Linked DNA regions of Homo sapiens: all the other regions are linked to region 2. Evidence: promoter capture Hi-C in 16 types of primary human blood cells and fetal thymus (Javierre and others, 2016). All regions are on one chromosome and are shown on one strand. Each heading gives the region's core, a stretch centred on a gene start or on the middle of the fragment in contact. The rest is flanking DNA. Distances are from core to core; before and after follow the strand shown. Region 1 overlaps ZNF383 (zinc finger protein 383). Region 2 holds the start of ZNF667 (zinc finger protein 667). Region 3 overlaps ZNF155 (zinc finger protein 155). Region 4 holds the start of LOC124904726 (a long non-coding RNA gene).

Region 1 (6,481 bases), core at 3,435-5,934, about 19 Mb after region 2:
GTGACTCACGCGACCTTACCGATCACTGGAGATGACTCTCACTCCATACCCTGCCCCTTTGCCTTATACACAATAAATAACAGCGCGACCAGGCATTCGGGGCCAATACCGGTCTCTGTGTCTTGGTGATAGTGGTCCCTCAGGCCCAGCTGTCTTTTCTTCTATCTCTGTCTTGGGTCTTTATTTCTACAATCTCTCGTCTCCACACACAAAGAGAAAATCCCACAGGCCCTGCAGGGCTGGTATCGCCTAGGAAGTAAACATTCTATTAGCAATATTAAACCCCTAATAATTATATAGTGATATTAACAAGGGAGATTTAAGTTTTTTAAAAAATGCCTGGCCGGATGGCTGGGCGCGGTGGCTCATGCCTGTAATCCCAGCACTTTGGGAGGCCGAGGCAGGCTGATCACCCGAGGTCGGGAGTTCAAGACCAGCCCGACCAACACAGAGAAACCCCGTCTCTACTAAAAATACAAAATTAGCCGGGCGTGGTGGTACATGCCTGTAATCCCAGCTACTAGGGAGGCTGAGGCAGGATAATCGTTTGAACCTGGGAGGCGGAGGTTGCGGTGAGCCGAGATTGCGCCATTGCACTCCAGCCTGGGCAACAAGAGCGAAGCTCTGTCTCAAAAAAAAAAAAAAAAAAAAAGCCTGGCTGGGTGCAGTGGCTCATGCCTGTAATCCCAGCACTTTGGGAGGCCGAGGCGGGCAGATCACGAGGTCAACAGATCAAGACCATCCTGGCCAACATGGTGAAATTCTGTCTTTACTAAAAATACAAAAATTAGCTGGGCATGGTGACGCACGCCTGTAGTCGCAGCTACTTGGGAGGCTGAGGCAGGAGGACCAGGAGGCGGAGGTTGCAGTGAGCTGAGATCGTACCACTGCATTCTAGCCTGGCAACAGAGCAAGACTACATCTCAAAAAAAGAATAAATAAATAAATTTTAAAAATACGACTACCCCAGGTCAATATATCTTATAGTGAAACTGCAGATTTCACCATGCAAAAATTTAAAGCACACATCTTGTCCAATAAATGAACTTACAAAAATTAAAATCTATATTAAAAATAGAAACTTACATGTCTGTTGAAGTATAAAAAGGGACTCAGTCTCATGATCAACAGCTTAGGAAACTTAAATGCACATTGCTAAGTGAAAGAAGCCAATTCAAAAAGACTACATACTGTATGATTACAACATTCTGGAAAAGGCAAAACTATGGAGACAATAAAAAGATTAGGAGTTGACAGGGAGGGAGGATCAGTCAGGGCACAGAGGCCTTTTAGAGCAATGGAATTAATGTGGATGACATCATAATGGAGATAAATGTCATTACACATTTGTCCAAACCCCTGGATGTGTAACACCAGGAGTGAACCCTAATGTAAACTATAGACTCTGAGTGTCCATGTGGGTTCATTAGTTGTAATAAATGTACCACTCTGGTGGAGGATGTTGATGATGGGGGAGACCATACGTGTGGGGGAAAGACGTGTATGGGAAATCTCTGTACCTTCTGCTCAATTTTACTGTGAACCTAAAAGTACCCTAAAAAATAAAGCATATTAAAACAAATAAACAACTACAAAAAAGTAAGTCCTGTCACATGCTACATGTTTGAACCCTGAGGACATTATGCTAAGTCAGGGATTCAAGCAATGTATTTATAAATAACTGGTGGTTCAAAGAATAAATTGCAATGGAAGTTAAAAATATTTTACGAGGTCAGGAGATCGAGACCATCCTGGGCAACATGGTGAAACCCCGTCTCTACTAAAATACAAAAAAAAAAAAAAAAGTTAGTTAGACATGGTGGTGCGCGCCTGTAGTCCCAGCTACTTGGGAGGCTGAGACAGGGGAATCGCTTGAACCCAGGAGGCGGAGGTTGCAGTGACCTGAGATCGCACCATTGCACTCCAGCCTGGTGACAAGAGCGAGACTCCTTCTCAAAAAAAAAAAAAAAATTTAAACTGAATGATAATAAAAAGTAACATGTCAAACTAATTTATCAAAGCATTCAACTAATTCATTATTATATTGTATCCCGTTACTACTTGGGTTTGTGTGTGTCTACTGACTAACTGCAGTGAATCCCCTTTCTATCTTGGGGTATTGTGACTGGAAAGAAGCCAGTCACAAAAAGACAAATACTATTATAAATGATTCCACTTACAGAGGTATCTAAGGTAGTCAAACTCATAGAAACAGAAAGTAGAACAGTGGCTGCCAGGGGCTGGGGAAAGAGGGAAATGGGACATTGTAGCTTAATAGTTATAATTCAGTTTGCAAGATGAAAAAGTTCTAAAGATCTATTGTACAATATGAATATACTTAACACTGGAATGTACATTTAAAAATGATTAGCTTGGTGTGGTGGTTCACACCTGTAATCCCAGCACTTTGGGAGGCCAAGGCAGGTGGATCACCTGAGGTCGGGAGTTCGGGACCAGCCTGACCAACATGGAGAAACCCTGTCTCTACTAAAAATACAAAATTACCTGGGCTTGGTGGCACATGCCTGTATTCCCAGCTACTCGGGAGGCTGAGGCAGGAGATCACTTGAACCTGGGAGGCAGAGGTTGCAGTGAGCCAAGATCGCACCATTGCACTTCAGCCTGGGCAACAAGATCAAAACTCATCTCAAAAAAAAAATTATTAAGATGGCCAGGCGTAGTGGCTCATGCCTGTAATCCCACCACTTTGGGAGGCCAAGGCAGGTGATCACGAGGTCAAGAGTTCAAGACCAGCCTCACCAATATGGTGAAACCCCGTCTCTACTAAAAACACAAAAATTAGCCAGGCATGGTGGCACCCACCTGTAATCCCAGCTACTCAGGAGGCTGAGGCAAGAGAATCGCTTGAACCCGGAAAGCAGAGGCTGCAGTGAGCTGAGATCATGCCACTGCACTCCAGCTTGGGCAACAGAGTGAGACTCCGTCTAAAAAAAAAAAAACAAAGATTAAGATGGTAAATTTTACATTGTCTTTTATACCACAATTAAAATGAAAACAAAATCATTGAAAAAAAAAAAAAAGCTAGCTGGGCATGGTGGCACATTGTCTGTAGTCCCAGCTACCCGGGAGGCTGTGATGGGACAATCACCTGAGCCTGGAAGGTCGAGTTTGCAGTGAGCTGTGACTGCACCACTGCACTCCAGCCTGGGTGACAGAGTGAGAGGCCCGTCTCTCAAAAAAAGAAAAAAACAAAAAACCAGAAAAATCTACATGTTCAATGAAGTATAAAAAGGGACCCAGTATAATGATCAGTGGCTCAGATTCCAATGAGCTTATTTTGTGGAACCAAGTCCCAGGTACCAAACACTAATTAATTAATTGAGCCCTCAGCCTTTAAGTTAAGTCTGTGGTTGGTTTAATTTTCCTCTTATCAGATATTGGCAATTTTTGTGTTACTTCATATTTTAAGTTTTGTTAGAGATTTATTAATTTTATTAATTCCCAAAAATAAGCTTTTGCCTTTGTTAGTTTTCTTCACTGTACATTCATTTTGTATTTCAATATATGTTCGTTATGTACAGCAAAACACGTACACCTTAAATATATGCAATACCAAATAAACTAAAAATTTTATATTTGGGCTTTTATTCTTATTATTTCCTAGATTTTAATTTTGGGGGTTTAACTTTCTAGACTTTTCCTTAGCTTCTTGAGATGAATACATAGATCATTAATTTTTCAACATTAATTTTTTTCTTTTTTTTTTCTGAGATGGAGCCTCACTCTGCCGCCCAGGCTGGAGTGCAGTGGCGCGATCTTGGCTCACTGCAACCTCTGCCTCCCAGGTTCAAGCAACTCTCTGCCTCAGCCTCCTGAGTAGCTGAGATTACAGGTGCCCGCCACCATACCTGGCTACTTTTTTTTGTATTTTTAGTAGAGATGGGGTTTCACCATCTTGGCCAGGCTAGTCTTGAACTCCTGACCTCGTGATCCACCAGCCTGGGCCTCCCAAAGTGCTGGGATTACAGGTGTGAGCCACTGCGCCCGGCCAACATTCATTTTTTTCTAACATATGCATTTACAGCTATATATTTTCCTCATATTCAGCTTTAGAAACATAATTTTGGTATGTTATTTTTCATTATCACTCAGTTTAAAATATTTTAAATATCTATCACAATTTATTCTTTGAGTCACCAGTTATTTATAAATACATTGCTTAAATCCCAAACATTGGGATATTTCTTTAATTTTTGTTTTTTTAAATTTAGAAATGGGGTCTTGCTATATTGCCCAGGGTGGCCTAAAACTTCTGGGTTCAAGCAATCCTCCTGCCTCGGTTTCCTAAAGTGCTGGGATTACAGGCATGAGTCACCACACCTGGCTGGGATATTTCCAATTATCTTCTTGTTATTGACTTCTAGCTTAACCTACTGTGGTCAGGAAAGTTACAGTATTATTTCATTCCTTTGAAATTTATTGAGACTCCCTTTGTGGCCCAGCATATGATCAATTTGGATAAATGTCTCATATGCATTTGAAAAGCAAGTATATTATGTAGTTGTAAGGTACACTGTTCTATACATATCAATCAGGTCAAGCTTGTCAATCACACTGTTCAAATACCATATAGCTTTATTGGGTTTGTCACTTGTTCTGTCAGCTATTGAGAAGAGTGCTAAAAACTCCCCACTAAGATTGTGATTTATCTACTACTTCTTTTAGTTATGTCAAATATATTTGAAGCCATTTTATGAAGGCATATAAATTCAGAACTGTTATATCTTACTGGTGAATTGATCTTTTTATTATAAACTATTCCTCTTTATCTCTAGTAAAGCTTCTTGTTGTAAAATCTATTCTTGTCATAAAGTCTACACTGCAGTTTGGAATATAGATTGATACCACTATTTCAGAAAACTGTCAGTATCTATTAGAGCTGAACATATACAGAAACCATGACCCAGCAATTTCACTCCTAGAAATACACCCAAGACAAATGCATTCATATGTGCACCAAAAGACATGTAAAAGAATGTTCCCGGCAGCGTTTTTCATAACAGCCTCAATATGAAATCAAATGCCAATCAGTAATGGAATGGATAAGTAAAATGTGTTATATTCGGCCGGGCACGGTGGCTCACACCTGTAATCCCACCACTTTGGGAGGCCGAGGCGGGCGGATCACCTGAGGTCAGGAGTTTGAGACCAGCCTGGCTAACATGGTGAAACCCCGTTTGTATTAAAAATACAAAAAATTAGCTGGGTGTGGTGGCGTGCGCCTGTAATCTCAGCTACTTGAGAGGCTGAGGCAGGAGAATCGCTTGAACCCAGGAGGTGGAGGTTGTGGTGAGCAGAGATGGTGCCATTGTACTCCACCTTGGGCAACAAGAGCGAAACTGTCTCAAAAACAAAAAAAAGTGTTATATTCATACAACAGAATTTTAAACAGCAATAATAATGTGTTCACTATATTCATTATATCACCTATAACTAACGTGCAGCAACATGGATGAATTTTATATATTTATACTACATATTATTACAGAATACATTCATATTACATACGAAATACAATATTGAGCAAAAGAAGCCAAGCATCATCTCCAAGTGAAACTGACAGTAGGAAAAAAAAAGTGAAAAAAAAAGAAGCCAAGCAAAATTCAAGTATAGGTAAAATTAGTCTATGGCTATAGAAGACAAACTATTAGTTCTCTTTAGGAGAAGTGGGTAGTGAGTGAACTGGACAAGACTTGGGCTTCTGTAATGCCAGTTATGTTTTATTTCCTTATCAGATTTGAGATCTGGTCAAAGGAATATGCTTTTTCTTTTTTTTTTTTTTTTTTGAGACAGAGTCTCGCTCTGTCGGCCAGGCTGGAGTGCGGTGGCACAATCTTGGCTCATTGCAAGCTCCACCTCCCGGGTTCACACAATTCTCCCGCCTCAGCTTCCCAAGTAGCTGGGACTATAGGCGGCCGCCACCATGCCCGGCTAATTTTTTGTATTTTTTTTTTTTTTTTAAGTAGAGACGGGGTTTCACCGTAGCCAGATGGTCTTGATCTCCTGACCTCATGATCTGCCTGCCTTGGCCTCCCAAAGTGCTGGGATTACAGGCACGAGCCACCGCGCCCAGCCCGGAATATGCTCACTTTTATACAAGTCATCAGGTCATATACCTTGATTTTGTACTTTTCAGAATGTATGGTATATATATATATTTGAGACAGGGTCTTGCCCTGTTGCCCAGGATGGAAGGCAGTGGTGCAATCGCAGCTCACTGCAGCCTCAACCTCCCTAGGTTCAAACAATCCTCCCACCTTATCCCCTGAATACCTGGGACAATAGCAGCATGTAACCATGCCTGGTTAATTTTTGTACTTTTTGTAGAGATGGGGTTTCACCATCTTGCCCAGGCTTGTCTCAAACTCCTGGGCTCAAGCAATCTGCCCAGTAGGCCTCCCAAAGTGCTGGGATTACAGGCATGAGTCACCATGCCTGGCCCCAGAATGTATGTTATACT
Region 2 (5,840 bases), core at 2,938-5,437:
GGAGGGAGAGAGAAGCATACATTTGTGACAGCATAAGGAGATTCATTTGCATGTAAGCATCTAGCACGAAAAGATATATGCTGTTTCCTTAACTCTTCAACACCATGCTCTCAAATCCTCTGAAAATATTTCTCCCACAAGAACTTTATTCTGTTGTCACAATTCAGGCCCTTGAAATCCCACAAATAAACTGTATACCTCCCCAGTGATATCCTGACTCAATTCTCTCTGCTTAATCCCTTCAAACAATACTCACAAATATGAGTTCTGCTATGGGCTATGATACAGAAGCTTGTACTAGACAAGTCTTCCTATCATAGCATATGGCAGATGCAACTATGTATGGTAGATCCAACTGTGTATGGTAGACACTGATAGCAATAACTTAAGCATACTCTGAAAATGACCCAGCATGGCAGACGCACCTGAATACATGTTCGGAGTTCCAAATATGACCAACATGGAGATTCATCTTTATCTATGATAAATGCCTGAGTCCCTGGCCTGTCCTGTGGAACGTGGGCCCTATAGGGGATTAAGGCTCTTTGTCTTGGGTTAAATGAGTCCCTGGCCTGTCCTGTGGAACGCTGGCCCTATGGGGGCTGAGGCTCTTTGTCTTGGGTTAAATGAGGGTTGCCATGTGGATGCTGTTAGGAGGAGAGTATTAAGTGAAAATGCTATACAAAGTCCATGCTTTCTGCAGGCGGTGGCAGTTCTCCTGTTCAGCCTACCACCACTGGACCACTCTGTATGTAAGTTCCATCTCACATATAACCTATGCCTCATTTCCTGGATCTGAGTCTCTTCTTCAGCCTCTTGAACCTGGTGCCATCCCTTTTGGAGCTGAAAGAGTTGCAGCATGACACAATAGCATACTACGAAATTAAACTATATCGGGGCAGTTTTGAGGCAGTGGACAAAAGATTCATGTGAGAGGGGAACCTGTTAACAAGCTGAGCCTCTTTATCTCCCCATTCTCTGTCTAGGGATAATTCCTCAACTACAGTGGACAGAGCTGGAATCTGAGCCAAGCGGAGCAGTCATGCTGAGTTCAGGAAGCCTCACTGCTAAATGCCACCTATCAAAGTGGCCTCCCCTGACCATCCTGTGTAAAATAATCCCTCCTTCCTCTCTAGACTTTCTAGCGTCTTTACCCTACTTTTTTTTTTTTTTTTTTTTTTTTTAACAAATTAAATCTTGGGCTGGGCGTGGTGGCTCACGCCTGTAATCCCAGCACTTTGGGAGGCTGAAGCGGGCAGATCACGAAGTCAGGAGAGTGAAACCATCATGGCTAACAAGGTGAAACCCCGTGTCTACTAAAAGTACAAAAAAATTAGCTGGGTGTGGTGATGGACACTCGCAGTCCCAGCTACTCGGGAGGCTGAGGCAGAAGAATGGCCTGAACCCAGGAGGCGGAGCTTGCAGTGAGCAGAGATCACGCCACTGCACTCCAGCCTGGGCGACAGAGCAAGACACTGTCTCAAAAAAAAAAAAAAAAGATTCCAGATACTCTGGAGCTGTCATAGGATCAGGTATTTAATTTATGCCTGTAATTCCCATGGGTTCCTGGGGCAGGGGGGGAAGTGGTGGGGAGTCCTGAGGTGAGAGTGAGGGAAGGTCTGACCAAATCCAAGACCAGGACTAGATTCTGGACCTGGGCTCTGGGACAAACTGTCTTAGAAAACTCATGGGTGTCTTGGGAGATAGTTGCTTTATTCGGAGAATGGGCACAACAGAGCCTGATCAGGAGCCAAGACATCCGACCCACACACTCTGGTTTCTCTGAACTAGGACAGTCTGAGGCATAAAGCTTTTTCCCAGATTTTCGCACTAACATGCCCCTAAAACAGCAGAAAGGATGACATACTTTCTTGGGAGGTGGTTTAAAGAAAACAAAGAAACTGCCAAGTGACAGATTTATCCTAAGATTTCTTGGATCTCTTGACCACACCCCTTATTCTAGTATTACCAGGTATTTAGAACAATCTCCAGTCTAGAAAGAAACTTGCTCCAAGGAACAACTCAGAGAACGGCTTACAGGATTAAAGAAAACCTTAAATGGAAAAATTCACTTTTGACCAGGGACAACAATCAGTAAGTGCTAGCTGCTAGTCACAGAGGTAATGGTAAAAGTCCTAATAGTAGTATCTGTTAGCTTTTATTTTTATTATTGCTACTACCTAATCACAGAAATGGGAAACCAAAACTAGTTCCTCACACATTCTCCCTACTACCTAGTCCCCAAAACTTGCTCAGAGTCACCTGGGAAGAAAGAAATCACAGGCCCTGGGTTCCCCTCACACATATACCCACCTATGCAACTACAAAAACTGGGTCTCAACACACAGGCGGGTACACACACACAGAGTCAAAAACACTGGCTTTCCTTGGCCGGTCGCGGTGGCTCACGCCTGTAATCCCAGCACTTTGGGAGGCCGAGGCGGGCGGATCACGAGGTCAAGAGCCCACATGGTGAAACCCCGAATCTACTAAAAATACAAAAAACTTAGCCGGGCGTGGTGGCGGGCGCCTGTAGTCCCAGCTACTAGGGAGGATGAGGCAGAAGAATGGCTTGAACCTGGAGGCGGAGGTTGCAGTGAGCCGAGATCGCGCCACTGCACTCCAGCCTGGGCGACAGAGCGAGACTCCGTCCCAAATCAATCAATCAATCAATCAATCACTGGCTTCCCACACACACACAACACTCATCCACAAAAACTGGCTACGGCTCGAAACCTTAGTCGGATAGTATTTTAGGCTTTATGGGCCACAAGATCTCTGCTGCAAGTACTGAACCCTGCCATTGTGCAAAAGCAGTCATAGAATAGACGTAAATATACACAAGTATACATATTCAAAATGTGTGGTTCCCCACAGAGACGTACACACCGCAAAAACTGGGCTCTAGAGTCAACAGTAAATAGTTCAGGCTTTGTGGGGCCACACAGTACCTGTTCCCACCTACTCAACTCTGCCCTTCCGCAGAAGTGGATGCAGAAGCTAAACAAATGTCCAGAACATACACACATATTCAAAATCAGTGCCCCCCGCCACGTACAAAACCACAAAAATCGCCTCAGAGACACACGTATAAGAAAACACAAAGGTTCGTCCTCACACATGTTCAGGGTAACACAATGTGGGTCTCACCTACACAAACGCGCGATCAAAACCCGGGACCCGCACGCCCAGATGACCGGGACGAGGCCATACTTCACATCTTCTCTCACAGACTCACAATTACGCAACGGTCACCTCAAACGACTTTATGGCGGACACTCCCGGACCTTCCGCTGTCCGCCCCTCCTCGTCCCTTCTCCCCGCCGGGGTGAGCCTCATCCACCCAGTCTCAACCCCGACGCAGTCAGTCTCACTGCCAGCCCGCCGGCTACGCAGGCGCAACACCGCATGGAACAGCCCCCAGGGCGTGCAGGGGCCGTTGGGAAATGTAGTCCGAGCGCCACGCAAAGGACTGTGGGCCTCTTCGCAAAACGTGCAGGTGAGTCCCCACTGTTGGCCAAAAGAAACATCCCTCCGCTGCTCTCCCGGGTCAGTTCATCTCCGACCCGGACAGAGCAGAACCAGCGCAGCCCAAGCCTTCTTCACCTCACGTTCTGGGTGGGACTTTCCACAGCCTCGCTGCACCCCGGTGGATTCTGGAGGTCGCAGGATGACTGCGTAGTGCGCACGCGCGGGTGGGCGGTGTCCGCCTCCGCGGGTGAGGCCGGCTCCAAACCTCGTGAATGTGGGGGCGAAGGACGCTGGCTGGCTGGAGGCAATAAGCCCTCACACGGGAACGTGTGGTTGTGGGAGCGGGGAAGGCGGCGAATTGGGGAGGTTGGGTTTGGTTAAAGAGCTCGAGGAAGGGCCTCAGTGTCCACACGTGATCTCCTGAGAGGATGAAAAGCAGGGCCAGGCGCCAGTCCCCTAGGAGACCGGTGTGCGTGCCAGCCTCGGGGGTGTGCGCAGGCGCGGGACCTCGCGCGTCCGCCTGCACCAATCGTGCGAACGCGCTTGTGCGTGTGGCGCTGAGGGGTCGGGGCCTCAGGCCGGGGCTGGTGGTACTGTCCCCGAGAGGCGGGTGAGCGCACGCCGCGTGGCCTTGTTTGGGGGCGGGGCCACGCGCCCGCATGCGTGGTGCGTGTGTGAAGGGGGGTGCAGCGCGCGGTCCCGGGGTCCCGGAGGGGAGTGCGCAGGCGCTGAGTCCCTGCTCGGCTGTCTCGGTGGTCGCCGCCGGGGTCTGAGCCCGGGAAGACCGAGGTAAGGGGGCTGGCGAGAGTGTGGGTGTGTCTGAGGGCGTGGGCGGCGCGCCCGCCACTGCGTGGACGTTCCTGCCAAGGCGCGCGTGGGTTTGCGCATCCACGATGGCGTGGGCGTCTGCGCGGGTGCTTGCGTGGGCGGTGGGCTCGCGCCTGCGTGGGTTCTCGGCCCGCCACGGCGTGGGGTTTGCGCCCTTCGCTGCTGTGGTTCTCGGGGCTTGTGCGCCCAAGTGTGAAGTTGGCGCCGCGTGTGAGGCGAGCCGTGTGTGCCTGTGTGTGAGGGAGCTATGTCGGGACCGCGGATGTGTATCGCTGCGTGACCCACGCGAAGGAAACAATGGAGCCATTGGGAAGCCGGGAGTGGGTGTGTGACGCTGACTGTGAAGATTTGTGTTTCTGGAGTGTGTGCGTGTGTCAGTGTCAGGCTGATGTGGGCGTTTATTGTAGCCTTGGGTTACTGTGTGACTTGCCTGGGCGTCTGTCTGCCACTTAGCGTCAGTGGCTTTGCGGTTATGAGTGTGTGACTGTGCCTTTCTGGTGTATATCTCACTGTAACCATGGAAATGGAGGCCCACAGGGGAAGAATTCTTAGCAGCTCTAAGATGTGATGGGCTGCCCTGGAAATCTGTGGAACTGTTTAATTGTGCATGACTTTCCTCCTTGGTAAAATAGCATATTAATAGCACCTGCCTGGGTGTTATTGGGAAGATTAAATGGGATGACGTAGCTGAAACACCCTGCACAGAGCTTGTCACATACTAATCACCGTGTTTAGGTGTTGGTTATGGTGCTGGTGGTCGTTTTTCTTTGACCCTATACAGAGGCAGAGGTAGTGGTGAATACTGGAGGACTTTGCATCTCTGAGCTTCGGACTGGGCTATCTTTGTCCACATACCAGGGCATCTGACCATCTCCAGTTGAGCAGTGGTGCGCTGCCCCCGCCAACCACCTGCGTCGTCAGTTTTCTGCATGTGTACATTTGAGTGGAGGACAGAGCCCTCCACTGACGCTAAGTATGGTTGTGTCCCCTTCCTACCAAGGTAGCTTGGAAAAATAAGAGCATGGACTGTGGCGCCCCGCTGTCTGGTGTTGACTCCTGGTTTCACCACTGGCTGGCTGTGTGACTGAGAGAGCTTACTTAAGTCCACCACTCCTCGGTTCACTTGTAAAACAGTAGTAATAACAGAACCAACCTCAGGTTTATGGTGAGCATAAGTAGAACTTGGCACAAGGAAGTGCCACATCAATGATCATCGTTTTATTATTAGCATAATAACCGCAGGCGTCCCACACCTGGAGAATAAAATCCATAGGTAGAAATGCAAAAGGATGAGCCCCAGAGTAAGGGTTGCAGGTCCAGAGGTAAAATAACTTGGACGTCTAGATCAGGGCTTAGGTTCAGAATTGTGTAGGCAGGGTCCTGGGAGGGCAGCATTAGGGTAGAGGAGGTGGGGTCAGGAACAAAGGATCTTCCTGATGGAGATGTCCCTAGGGAGCCCATGGGGTCAAGAACAGAACTTTGAAGTGTCAGGGACTAAGGGATGTTTCCATATAACACATGGGTCTGGAAATGTTTCTGTC
Region 3 (5,856 bases), core at 1,563-4,062, about 12 Mb after region 2:
TGGAAATCCTCATTCAAAAAGAATTTCTTCCCAGATATAAATATGCTCCCTATGGAAAGCTCCAGGATAAGTCTCAGGGAAGGCATCTTACTCAGTGTGGTCATAAAAACAATGCTTAGAAGTTTCCACGGGACGTGGGTCAATTGTACACACCTGAAACCAATCATGTCAAGGAACCTAAGAAAGTCAGAATTGGATAAGCAGCCATCAGCAGGCCAAAAAAACTGTTCTGCAATATACAGTCAGCCTTCCTATTATGTTACACAGCAAGGGGGATTAAAACGGCAGACGCCATAACGGTCACTAGTCACCTAAGCAGAAGGTAGGAAGATCATCCTGGTTTATGCAGGAGTGACCAATGCAATCACAAGGGACCTGAAAGGTAGAAGGCAGAGGCTTAGGAAGAGTGGCAGAGGGAATGGGATTATGGAAGAATGGTCAGAGATGCAAAGTAGCTGCCTTCGAAGATGGAGACGTGAAACAAGAGCCAGGGAGTGTGGACAGTGCCTAGACACTGGTAAACCAAAGTGAAGTTTTCCCTCCAAGAACATTCAGGCAGAAACAAAGCCCTAGGGACGCTTTGATTTTTGCCCAGTGAAATGTATCAAACTTCAGGCCTAAAGAACAGAGAGATAATAAATATTTTTGTTTAGTCCACTAAGTTTGTGGTCATTGGTTACCACAACAGGCAATACAGTGTCCTTGGCAGGACAGAAACAGCAGGGAAGAAATGTGGCTGGAAATGATGGAGAAAGATGGAAAGGACACACGTAGTCAGAGAGGCAGAATGGGATGAAGAGCAGACCACATAGGTCTCTAAGATGCACTTAAAGAGGTTGTAACATCAATAAAAATAAGAAGTTATAAAAGCTTTTGAGGAGAGGAATGACAATCTGACTTCCATTTCCTAAGGATCGCTTTGGCTGCCATGAGAACAGATATTAGGGTGGGAACAGGGCCACCAACTGGAAGGCAGTTGTAATAATCCAGGAAGGAGATGTGGTCATTTACATCAGAGCAATGCAAATGGGCATGGACAGAAGCACAACAGGTGGGAGAGTCAGGTACAAGGACACACAGATGCTTAGTTCTTACCTGAATTCCCTTCTCTTTGGGTTGCTGTCCCCATCATCCAAAACTTTTCTTCCCTTAGGAAGTGGCAAGTATCTTGGTGGAACGGTTGATGCCCTGTGAATAGGTAAGGTCACGTGCTGAATCCCAACACATTCTGGGTAATATTTAGGCAAAATTTACTGGCTATTTAGGTTCCCAATGCACACTCAAACTTGAACACTCTAAGGTACAAAACCACTCCTGAGGCCTGATGTTCAGACACAAAAGATGCCCGTGCTCACCCACTGAGAGCAGGTTCCTGAAGTTCTCCAGCATCACATCTCGGTACAGCTTCCTCTGGGCAGGGTCCAGCAGCCCCAGCTCCTCCTCAGTGAAGACCACAGCCACATCCTTGAAGGTCACTGCCTCCTACAACATCAAGAAGACATAACTTCAATCTTATGACCAAGGACTACTGGGGGAGAAGCGGCATTGAGCAGGGGAAGGGGATGAGTGGAAAGTTGTTCTCAGTATTGAGGGATGTAGGTCAACTTAGAGATTTCCCACTCATTCTGTCTATATCCTGACAATGACACATACTGATTTTCCTGAACTCCACCAGAAGTGCAATGATGAAGTCTCATACATTTATTCTGTGCACTCATTGAGTCTACTTGTATGTAACCCTCTAGGACTCTACATGCTGCATCCTGAGCTACCCATATATAGGTTCGACACATCTTGCCAACTGCCCCAGCAACATTAAACAATTCAGTCCCAACTTTGTTGGGTCCTCCTCTCTCGTACTCAAACCCTGGATGCTATTGCTTTTCTTTAGTATTTGCTAAACTAACAAGTTTTAGGTAACTGTGGGTAATTTTCAGGGTGGCCTTGAATCATTCTTTCTTGTGTATAGTTTTGAAGAATAAACATAGAACATGCTAGCAATGCAATGTTCCTGTCCTTCCTAGGGAAGATAATGTCTTGAGTTAGGGAGAAAGTGCCCAGTAAGTCGTATTGCCCCGGAGGTATATAACCTCGGGTGGGCTGCCTTCTGGGGTACCTCTGCTCTGGTGGAAATGGGGTCAAGATTCTACCCACCCCAGGACGTTTTCTTCAGCCTTGGATGGCCACCTCACAGTGTATCCTACACTCCTGTGCTCCCTTGCTGCCAATTTGTAGATAACAAATCTGCTTCACGTAATCTGTTGAGTGAGATCGTGTTCTGTCTCACAGGACTCACACAAGTTGGTAATCAGTGCACAGTGAACCTACTCCACAGTACCAGTGTGGACAGCTGAGTGGGACAGTTATGTAGTGTGTCCTCTACTCTCAAGGTACAAACCACAAATGTTAATTGCAGCCTTCAGTGTCCTGATCAGAAGCCAGAATGCATCACTGTACATCCTAAGGGTCTGCCCCTTCCTAACTGTGTGGCCTTAGACATGTTTGCCTACAGGATTTACTTTCCTCTCTAAATAATAGTCCTTATTTGGCACAGTATTTTAAAGGATTAAACAAGGAAATACATAGCATTTGGAAACATCTGTGCCACTGTTTAATGAACATTAGCTGGAATCTTTTTTACTGTTGTTACTAGCATTATCTATTTCATGGCTGCATAGTATTCCAGAGATCTGATGACCTACTTTTAGCTACAGTAAAGAATATTTAATTTTACATATTTTCCATTATCAATCCTGTAAAGAGCATCATTAAGTAATGATGTAGCAAGATGTAAGAACATCTTACTCTCTCATTGTTTAAAATAATAATTTCAAATGAAAATTAAAACATCAAAAAATAAGCACATTTAGAACTGTGATCATATAACTGCATGCTTTCTTCCCAGTTTTTTACCTACCTCCATAATCTTTGAACAGAATACAAGTACTTTGCTTCTCTTTATCATGACCAAGAGCAGGTTATAAGTATTCCCACAGTCTTGGTAATCTGATTTGGGGAACAAATCATTCTATTATTCTCACTTATTTGATTACAAATGAAAACCATCACTTTTCAAGGTTATTGGCCATCTCTACTTCTCCTTTTACATTGGCCTTTTAGTGTCCTTTGTTCCTATCTGTTTGGAGTTTTTCCTTTATTCTGTGCTCAAGGTTTTGATTTTGAATTTTATTTTCTTTAGGTATCCACGTGGCTAACATTTCTGCCCCAGGTCATTATTTCTTCTGGTAACATTGTGTGAGGCATCTTTTGCCAAAAGGGATTTAAAGATTTTCTATAACAACTATGGTAATCAGTATACTTCAGTGCCTGGAGTAGATGCCATGTCATAGTGACATGTGACAAGAAGTCACACCAAGTAGGGACAGGGAGGAGCAGCACCACTAGGGACACCATCACTCCACAGGGCACTCCAGACATCCACATCACAGGGCACAGGTTGCTCAATGGAGAATTCTGTCTCTCTCCTTGTTTCTCTTTTTCACCTGAGCCGAATGGCTAACACTCCTGACCTTTGGTTGCCTGTGTACACCTGAGAAGGTTTCTCATATTTCACCTGTTCAAGAAGAAGAAGAGACCAGGAACCTCATTCCGCTGCGCTGAGGAGTAAATGTAGTAACAGAACACAAGTGATTGGCAAAACTTAGTATCACTGGACATTTTAAATGAAGGCTTTCTACTGCTTTGGTTAAACTGCTTACTACATAAATGAATAAGAAGAGACCAGTAAATAAAGCACATGCAAAGTATGACTGAGACAAGGAGAACACAGAATCTAGCTCTTCCAGTGTGAAAACTCCAACAATATTTGTGTGGTGCAGCAGTTACATCCTTTTGTTCTGTGCCTAGTTAAAATATTCTATCTGCAAAACAGCCAATGTGGTACATATCAAAAGTACCCTTTCAAAATTGAGCTAAAATGGCATATGGTTTTCAAAATTAATTTTGTGGGAAAAGGTTATGTATAGGAAAGCTGTCACTGCAGTGTTGCTTAAAATATGTCTATGAGCGTGAGGTAGTTATAAATAAAAAGATACATCAATGTAATAGGAATATGATGTAACCATAAAAATGGAAGATTATATAACATATAAAAAGAGCACAGTTTACAATTAGATGTATATCATCAATACAAATACAGTTACAAATGTACATGACGAACAGCAGAGAAGATAAAAACAGATAATTTGAGAGAGGGGAGGTAAGGAAGTGGGAGCACTGTTCATTTCTACTAATTTTCATACTCCATAAAATAAATAATGGTAACAAAACAAAACAAAGCAAAACCAAAAACCAAATGCAGTCAACACAAAAGAGATAAAGGAAGCACCTGGCACAAACAGGTCCCCAAATGCCTGTTTTCCCCTTGAGTCTTCTCATGACAGAGAAAAACACATGAAAATATGAGTAGTGACATGGAATTTTAACAGCGAGAGAGGCACGCCCCCCTCACCTTGAATGTGGTCATTTTTCCTCCTACTTTGGGGAATTTGCAGACTCCTGGGTGATGCAGTTTGAATGAAGGAGGAATCCTGCCTGAAACGTGCCACAGTCTGCAGAAAAAGAGAGATGTGTGTTGTGAATTAGCCCATGAATGATCACAGCAGCATTATTCATAATAAACCCAAACTGCACACAACCAAGATGCCTTCCTCTGGGTAAATGGATAGGCAAATGGTGGTGTATCCATACCATGGAATCTTATTTGGAAATTTAAAGGATGTTTCCAAAGCTTGGAAACATCATGCTAAATGAAAGAAGCCAATCACAAAACCCATGGATTATACGATCCCATTTATATGAACCATCCAGAATAGATAATGGTATATAGAGAGAATATAAGTTAGTGGTTGCTCCAGATTTGAGGTGAGAATGAGTTTTTATTTTTTAAGAGATGGGGTCTTGCTATGTTGTCCAAGCTGGTCTCAAACTCCTGAGCTCAAGCTATACCTCCCACCTTGGCCTCCCAAAGTGCTGAGATTACAGGCATGAGCCACTGTGCCCGGCCTGAAAATGAGTTTTAACTGTAAGTGGGCACAAGAAGTCCAGTTAGGGGATGAAAATGGTCTAAACTGAATCATGATGATGGCAAAACCACTATGTGAAATTCCTGAAGATCACTGAATTGTACACCTGAAATTGGTGAATGCTATGATACGTAAAAAATACCTCAATAGAATTGGGAAAAATAATTGTTAGTTTACATGTCATTTAACTTAACAAGACTGAGTCCATACTGATAGAATATTTATAGTTGAAGAAACTAATAAATAAATGGGGGAGAACTGGCAGTTCATTTTTAGAGTGAATGCCCATTAATAATGTATCTCCCCAGAAGAAACTTGACTATTTCTTTTAAAAAGGTAATTTGATAGTGGACAAATCTGAAAGACATCATCTTGGCCAAATGAATGAAGTTGAGATCACCAATGAAGGGCCAAACCAACATCGTTTGGCCCTGTTATGTTACAATAGGAAGGAAACCTTATCACTTTGGCAGTATCCGCACCAACAATGCATAAGGCCCAGAAGCAATAACAATGCATGATCTGAACCTAAACATGAGATATATCAGATAAATCCCAATGAACGTCTTTCTCCAAAATAACTTGCCTACACTCTTTAAAAATACCACATATATTAAAGAAAAAGGCTGTGAAATCCTTCCAGATTAAAGAAGACAGAAATGTGACGAGTAAACACAATGCATATAATTAGACTTTAAACTGGGGTCAGGGTAAAGGGTAGGGTAGAAGATAGTTGTGAGGACTATAAATGAAAAAATTGAACAAATTTAATTATGGAACCACATATGAGATAACATGATGTTATGGAATA
Region 4 (6,420 bases), core at 1,654-4,153, about 12 Mb after region 2:
CCTGTGTGGACTCTCCGATGGCATATTAATGGTGAATTGTGGCTGAAGCCCTTACCACACACATCACACTTGTAGGGTTTCTCTCCAGTGTGGACTCTCTGATGGATGTGAAAATGTGCAGCCTGAGTGAAGCCCTTACCACATTCCTCACATTTATAGGGCTTCTCACCCCTGTGGACCCTCTGGTGAACACGGAGATTAACACTCCAACCGAAGCCCTTACCACACTCTTCGCATTTGTATGGTTTTTCTTCAGTGTGGACTCTCTGATGGCACTGAAAATTTGAACTTTGACTAAAGCATTTACCACATTCCTCGCATTTATAGGGTTTCTCTCCAGTATGAGTTCTGTAATGAATGATAAGACCCGTGCTGCTACTGAATCCCTTGCCGCAACTGTCGCATCTATAAGACTTCTCTCCTGTATGATTAGATTGATAAGAATGAAAAGAGCTCTTATTGAAGCAATCACCAGATTCATGACATCTATTGAGTTTCTCTCCTGGGTGAATTCTCTGATGAGTTCGCAGATGTGAGCTTTGACTGAAGCATTTTTCTCCTGTATGAACATTCGGATGAAGGGGAAGCCTTGGGCTATAACTGAAGCCCCTTCCACACTCACCACATGGATGGGGTTTCTCTCCTAAGGGTAATTTCTGATTGGAGCCATCACTAATGATTTTGCCATATTCATTACCTTTGCAGGGTTTTGGTTCTGTGTCAGTTTTAATATGCTCATGAAATGGTGATTTCTTCATGAAGTCTTCATGTATTTGCAGGTTATTTTTCACATCAATTTGCTTACCTCTACTCTGAATCTGTGACTCACTCAGATATGTATTCCCGCAAGAATGCTGGGTTCTCCAAAATGGAAACTCTTGATTTTCAATATAAATAGAGCTATCTCCTTTAGGGTTCATTATATTGTTCTCATTTTCAGAAACCTGAATAGAGTCACCTTGTAATAACTGGGAACTCTTCCCCTGAAGACACCTGGTTAATTCACTTGCAACCTGTTTCCAGATTTGCCAGCAGGACAGCTCTTGATTTGAAAGGTATTTTAATGCAAATTTTTGGAGTGTTTCCATCTTATTTTGATGCTTGCTGCCTATTAAAAAAGAAAAAAGGCAATATTTAGAGATGAGGGCAGTAAATGCTTTCTTCAGAAATATCAGAATTTCACACTTAGGCCATGGGAGAAAGCCTTGATAAACCAGGCGAAAGGTGACCTTGTCCTTACAGCATCGTGTATTCTTTTGACATGTTTTTCATACAGGTGTAAACGAAGAGTGGGGTCAACAGGCTCCCATTCACTAAGTATAAACATGATCCATGTAGAACCGTAAGTCTAACAGTTTAATATGAGAGCTAAAAGCTAAAATCAGGTAGCTGCAGGGCAACAAAAAGAAAATCCATATTCCAACCTACAATAACATCAATGAACAGCCTACTCACCTCTTCCTCAGTAGGCTTATGACAAGCGGGATTCTAATAACTAGTTAGGTTAAGAAAAGTTCAGACTGTAGGCATGAAATACTATTTTAGATCCTGATAGAAATTATTCTCCAACAGATTTGGGAAGGCAGTTGGAATAATATGATTGTTCTAAAACCTGGTAGAAATCCAGGTCTCTGGACAAGTGGAAAAGGGAAAGCTAATCTTGTATAACTAGGAGAGAACTTCGGAGAGGAAATAGAGCATAGTGCAAACTCTCAAAGCCAACACAGAAGACGAAGAGAGGGAGAGGTATGTTCAGCTTGGAAACTTCCTCCCAGAAAGCAGGGAGCCTTGCTTGTTCTCTCGCTCCCTTCAGGTCTCTGCTCACATGTTACATGTTACTTTATCTGTGATGCCTTCCATAACACACGATGTAAAAATAAATCAACGGTACCACCATACGCCATTTTTTTTTTAAAAAACAGCGTCTCGCTCTGTCGCCCAGGCTGGAGTGCAGTGGTGTGATTTCAGCTCACTGCAACCTCCACCTCCTGGGTTCAAGAGATTCTCCTCCTCAGCCTCCCGGGTAGCGGGGATTACTGGCGCATGCCACTACACTCAGCCAATTTTTGTATTTTTAGTAGAGATGGGGTTTTGCCATGTTGGCCAGGCTGGTCTCGAACTCCCGACCTCAAGTAATCTGCCCACCTCGGCCTCCCAGAGTGCTGGGATTACAGGCTGAACCACCACGCCCGGCCTGCCATACACCTTCGACTCTTTCCAGTTCAATTACCCTGCTTGACTTTTCCCCACAGTACTTATTATTTGATTTACTATATACTTTCCTTTGTCTCTTTAGACCCAGTAGAATGTAACGGTCATGAAAAAAACACGCATTTTGTTTTCTTCATTGCTTTATCCCCACTGTTAACAAGGGTTTTCAAATTGTTGCAATGCATTAGTGCACCATGAAACCAAGTATGTAACTTGTGACTGACAAAAAAACAAAAAACAGAATAAGACATGCTTAGTGTATTAAAAGCAATAAGAGTACTACTATAGGAAATACTTGTTTTAGTTGGTAAATATACACATAAATATAAACATATTTATGCTTAGTCAAGATGTAAAATTATACTTATGTTGAGGGTCATGGTTAGAAACGTATGAAAGACCTTGGCTTAAAATGTTTAGGGGGTGGTTTACCAAGTCCTAATCAAATAATTTGCCTAAATGAAATGTTACATTCTAATAATACAAACTGAAAAAAAAATAGCAACAGGTGTCTACACATTTCTGGATATGGCAGGCTGAGTAATGACACCCCACCCCCAAGAGATGTCCACAGCCTGAACTCTCAAACCTGTGAATAGTTAATGTACATGGCAAAAAGGAATTTACAGGCCAGGCACAGTGGCTCACACCTGTAATCCCAGCACTTTGTGAGGCCGAGGCAGGTGGATCACTTGAGGTCAGGAGTTCGAGACCAGCCTGGCCCACAACATGGTGAAACCCCGTCTCCGCTAAAAAACTAAAAAAACAATTAGCCTGGCATGGTGGCAGGCACCTGTAAGCTACTAGGGAAGCTGAGATATGAGAATCGCTTGATCCCAGAAGGCAGAGGTTGCAGTGAGCCAAGATTGCACCACTGCACTTTAGCCTGGACGACGGAGCATGACTCCGTCTACAAAAAAAAAAAACAAAAAAACAAGCAATTTATAGATATGATTAAATGAAAGCTCTTAAGGAGATTATCCTAGATTATCCAATGAGCCTAAAGTAATCACAAGTCCTTACAAAAGGGAAGAAAGAGGGAAGCCACCCAGATTTCACCCTATATATCTCTCCCTTTTGCTGCTTCCAACATGTATCTTTTTTGCTATAATAAAACTGTAAGTCCAGCACCTTCCCGAGTTCTGTCAGTCATTCTAACAAATTATCACGGGAACTCCCAAATTTGTAGCTACTTGGTCAGAGGTGAGCAAAATTATCTGGGAATCCCTAAACTTAGAGCGATATATAAACTTAGAGCGATATAGAGAGCAGTCTTGTGGAAAACTATGCCCTTACTCTGAAAGTCCGGCCTAACTTCAGGTGTTTGGTGTCAGAAGTCACTGCAACATGTAAAGTGCTTCTCACATTGCTGGTGCTAGAAGCTAAGATTAATACATGTGGATGCAAATTACACTGGAAACCCAATTTAGAAATTCTGGAATTTTCTTTGCCTAATCAGGACTCACCTCAACTCCACAGGTATGTCAGTGCCTCTGGACTTCTGGAAATGTCCAATTCAAAACTGCTAAAGAACTACTGTATGTAGGTTATATAACTGTTTTGGTATTAGAGGGAAGGGGAAATGGGAAAGTGGGAAGTCAGCTGTATGGATAAGGCAGTTTTCACCAATGAGTAAAGCCAACTTGAAATTGATACAGGGAAACTGATGAACTATAATACCTGCCATATTGCCACTGATAATTTTTGATAGTGAAGTTCTACATTCCAACAACTGTGAATAGCTTTTATCTTCTAAGGTTAGTAGGTTTGAATATTTACATGTCCAAAAATGTCTTAGAAATTACTAATTATGTTAGACATTCACTAGAAGACAGTGTTCCCAAATAATTAATCACACTGGTGTGCTCTCAATCTATGAGCTAACTCTGAGTAAAAGGGATGTGATATCTACTTGTCTCCATTCTCTGTAAGTTTTTTGTTAAGAATTCTTATAAAAACAAACCCTTTGGCTGAGCATGGTGGTTCATGCCTGTAATCCCAGCATTTTGGGAGGCTGAGACAGGTGGACCACGATCTCAGGAGTTCGAGACCAGCCTGGCCAACATGGTGAAACCCCATCTCTACTAAAAATACAAAAATTAGCCGGGTGTGGTGGCAGGCGCCTGTAATCCCAGCTACTCGGGAGGCTAAAGCAGAATTGCTTGAACCCAGGAGGCGAAGGTTGCAGTGAGCCAAGATCATGCCACTGCACTCCAGCCTGGGTGACACTTTTGGGAGGCCAAAGTGGGTAAGATCAGAACTTCAATACCAGCCTGGCCAACATGGTGAAACCCCATCTCTATTAAAAATACAAAAATTAGTTGGGCATGGTGGTGGTCACCTGTAATCCCAGTAACTTCGGAGGCTGAGGCAGGACAATCACTTGAACCCGGGAGGCAGAGGTTGCAGTGAGCCAAGATGGCACCACTGCTTTCCAGCCTAGGTGACAGAGCAAGCAAGACTCGGTCTCAAAAAAAAAAAAAATTCACATCATCTAGGAATATCTAATTTTTACTTTTAATTTTGTGTGTGTGGGAGACAAGGTCTCACTATGTTGTCCAGGTTGGTCTCAAATTCCTGGGCTCACTTGATGCTCCTCCCAAGTAGCTGGGACTACAGATGTATGCTAACATGCCTGGCTAAGATATATATATATATATATATATATATATTTTTTTTTTTTTTTTTTTGTAGAGATGGAGTCTCACTATGTTGCCCAGGTTGGTCTGGAACTCTTCAGCTCAAGTGATCCTCTCACTTCAGCCTCCCATGTAGCCAGGATTACAGGTATGTACCACCATACCCAGCTTACTTTTAATTTTTAAGTCAATAGACCTGAGGAATATGCAAATTCAAGAGAAAGCAAAGAAGGAGAGAAAGGAAAGGTAAGGGGATGGAAAATGGAAGGAAGATGGTATTTTAAATTAAAATGGTAAATTTAAACATAGAAGGCCTCTCTAATGATATAACATTTGAGGAATGACCTGAGTGCAGTAAGTAAGGTGCTGGGGAGCCTCTCCACCAAGGCAATGAGGAGAGCTAATTAGAAGCCATGGAAGAGAAGGGAACTTGGTATGCTTAACAAATACTCCAACGGCGGCCAGCATGGCTGAAATGATCTAAGCAAAGGGAAAGGAATGGGAGATCAAAGAGAAACTTGGTGAGATGAGACCAGGTAGGGTCTTGCAGTTCAGTACAAGGACTTTGAGTGAAATGGGAAGGTTGTGAAGGCTTCTGAGCAGAGGAATAACATCATCTCATGTGTTCTTTAAAGAACCATTCTGGGCCGGGTGCGGCAACTCACATCTGTAATCCCAGCACTTTGGGAGGCCGAGGTGGGAAGACTGCTTGAGTCCAGGAGTTTGAGACCAGCCTGGGCAACACAGCAAGACCTCATCTCTACAAAAAATAAAAAATTAGCCAGGTATCATGATATATACCTATAGTCCTAGCTACTTAGGAGGCTGAGGTGGGAGGACCACTTGAAATCAGGAGGTTGAGGCTGCAGTGAGCTACAATCATGCTGCTGCACTCCAGCCTGGGTGACAGGGTGAGACCCTGTCTCAAAAAAATAAAGATTAAAAAAAGAACCACTCCGGCTACCATTTAGAAAGCAGATTATAGGAGCACAAGGGAGGAGGTGGGGAGACCAGCATGGAAGCTATTGTTATAATCCAGGTGAAAGATTTTAACACTCAGACCAGGGAGGTCATGGACATGGTAAGATGCAGACTAACCAGTACCTGAAAGAACAGACACAGGGTTCTCACCAGAATACCTACTTCTTTGGGTTTCTGTTTCCATCATCCAAAGCTTTTCTTCTGCTTCCAATTGGGATACCATATCTGGTTGGAAGGGAAGATGCCCTATGAAAATGTAGATTTTTATGTATTTAAGATGAACACACAACTAAAACACATTTTTGTCTGAACCCTATAAGCCTCACAACCTCTATAGTGATATTTTATTATTTTATTTATTTATTTTGAGACAGAGTCTCACTCTATCGCCCAGGCTGAAGTGCAATGGCACAATCTCGGCTCACTGCAACCTCTGCCTCCAGGGTTCAAGCAAGTCTCCTGCCTCAGCCTCCCGAGTAGTTGGGATTACAGGCACCTGCCACCACACCCGGCTAATTTTTGCATTTTTAGTAGAGATGGGGTTTCACCATGTTGGCCAGGATGGTCTTGAACTCGTGACCTCAAGTGA

Evidence for each region. The method cuts DNA at HindIII sites, captures the fragments that hold promoters and counts their contacts. A CHiCAGO score of 5 or more calls a contact.
Region 1: a contact is called between a fragment that was not itself captured here and the fragment with the promoter of ZNF667 in region 2, in 2 of 17 cell types (total B cells and naive B cells). The highest score is 14.7, in total B cells.
Region 3: a fragment that was not itself captured here is called in contact with the fragment with the promoter of ZNF667 in region 2 in 1 of 17 cell types (total B cells); the score reaches 7.6 in total B cells.
Region 4: a fragment that was not itself captured here is called in contact with the fragment with the promoter of ZNF667 in region 2 in 1 of 17 cell types (total B cells); the score reaches 5.6 in total B cells.

The regions. Positions count from the first base shown.
Region 1 is chr19:37,221,282-37,227,762 of GRCh38, reverse strand. ZNF383 (zinc finger protein 383) reads right to left here. Exons shown (of 6, transcript NM_001387601.1): 2 at 2,824-2,945. Among named protein-coding and RNA genes, the nearest start is that of ZNF383, 6.3 kb to the right of the region's middle. The HindIII fragment of the contact is 239 bases long and covers 4,565-4,803 here.
Region 2 is chr19:56,475,692-56,481,531 of GRCh38, reverse strand. It overlaps ZNF667 (zinc finger protein 667), which reads left to right and starts at 4,187. Exons shown (of 7, transcript NM_001321356.2): 1 at 4,187-4,260. ZNF667-AS1 (ZNF667 antisense RNA 1) reads right to left here and starts at 3,658. Exons shown (of 2, transcript NR_036521.1): 1 at 3,151-3,658. The HindIII fragment of the contact is 7,484 bases long and covers 1,813-5,840 here.
Region 3 is chr19:43,987,174-43,993,029 of GRCh38, reverse strand. It overlaps ZNF155 (zinc finger protein 155), which reads right to left. Exons shown (of 5, transcript NM_198089.3): 2 at 4,472-4,571; 3 at 1,356-1,482; 4 at 1,096-1,188. The coding sequence starts at 4,486. Among named protein-coding and RNA genes, the nearest start is that of ZNF155, 5.9 kb to the right of the region's middle. The HindIII fragment of the contact is 3,880 bases long and covers 873-4,752 here.
Region 4 is chr19:44,229,390-44,235,809 of GRCh38, reverse strand. It overlaps ZNF227 (zinc finger protein 227), which reads right to left. Exons shown (of 6, transcript NM_182490.3): 5 at 5,994-6,077; 6 at 1-1,108. It overlaps LOC124904726 (a long non-coding RNA gene), which reads left to right and starts at 966. Exons shown (of 3, transcript XR_007067266.1): 1 at 966-1,055; 2 at 4,906-4,998. The HindIII fragment of the contact is 6,247 bases long and covers 1-6,026 here.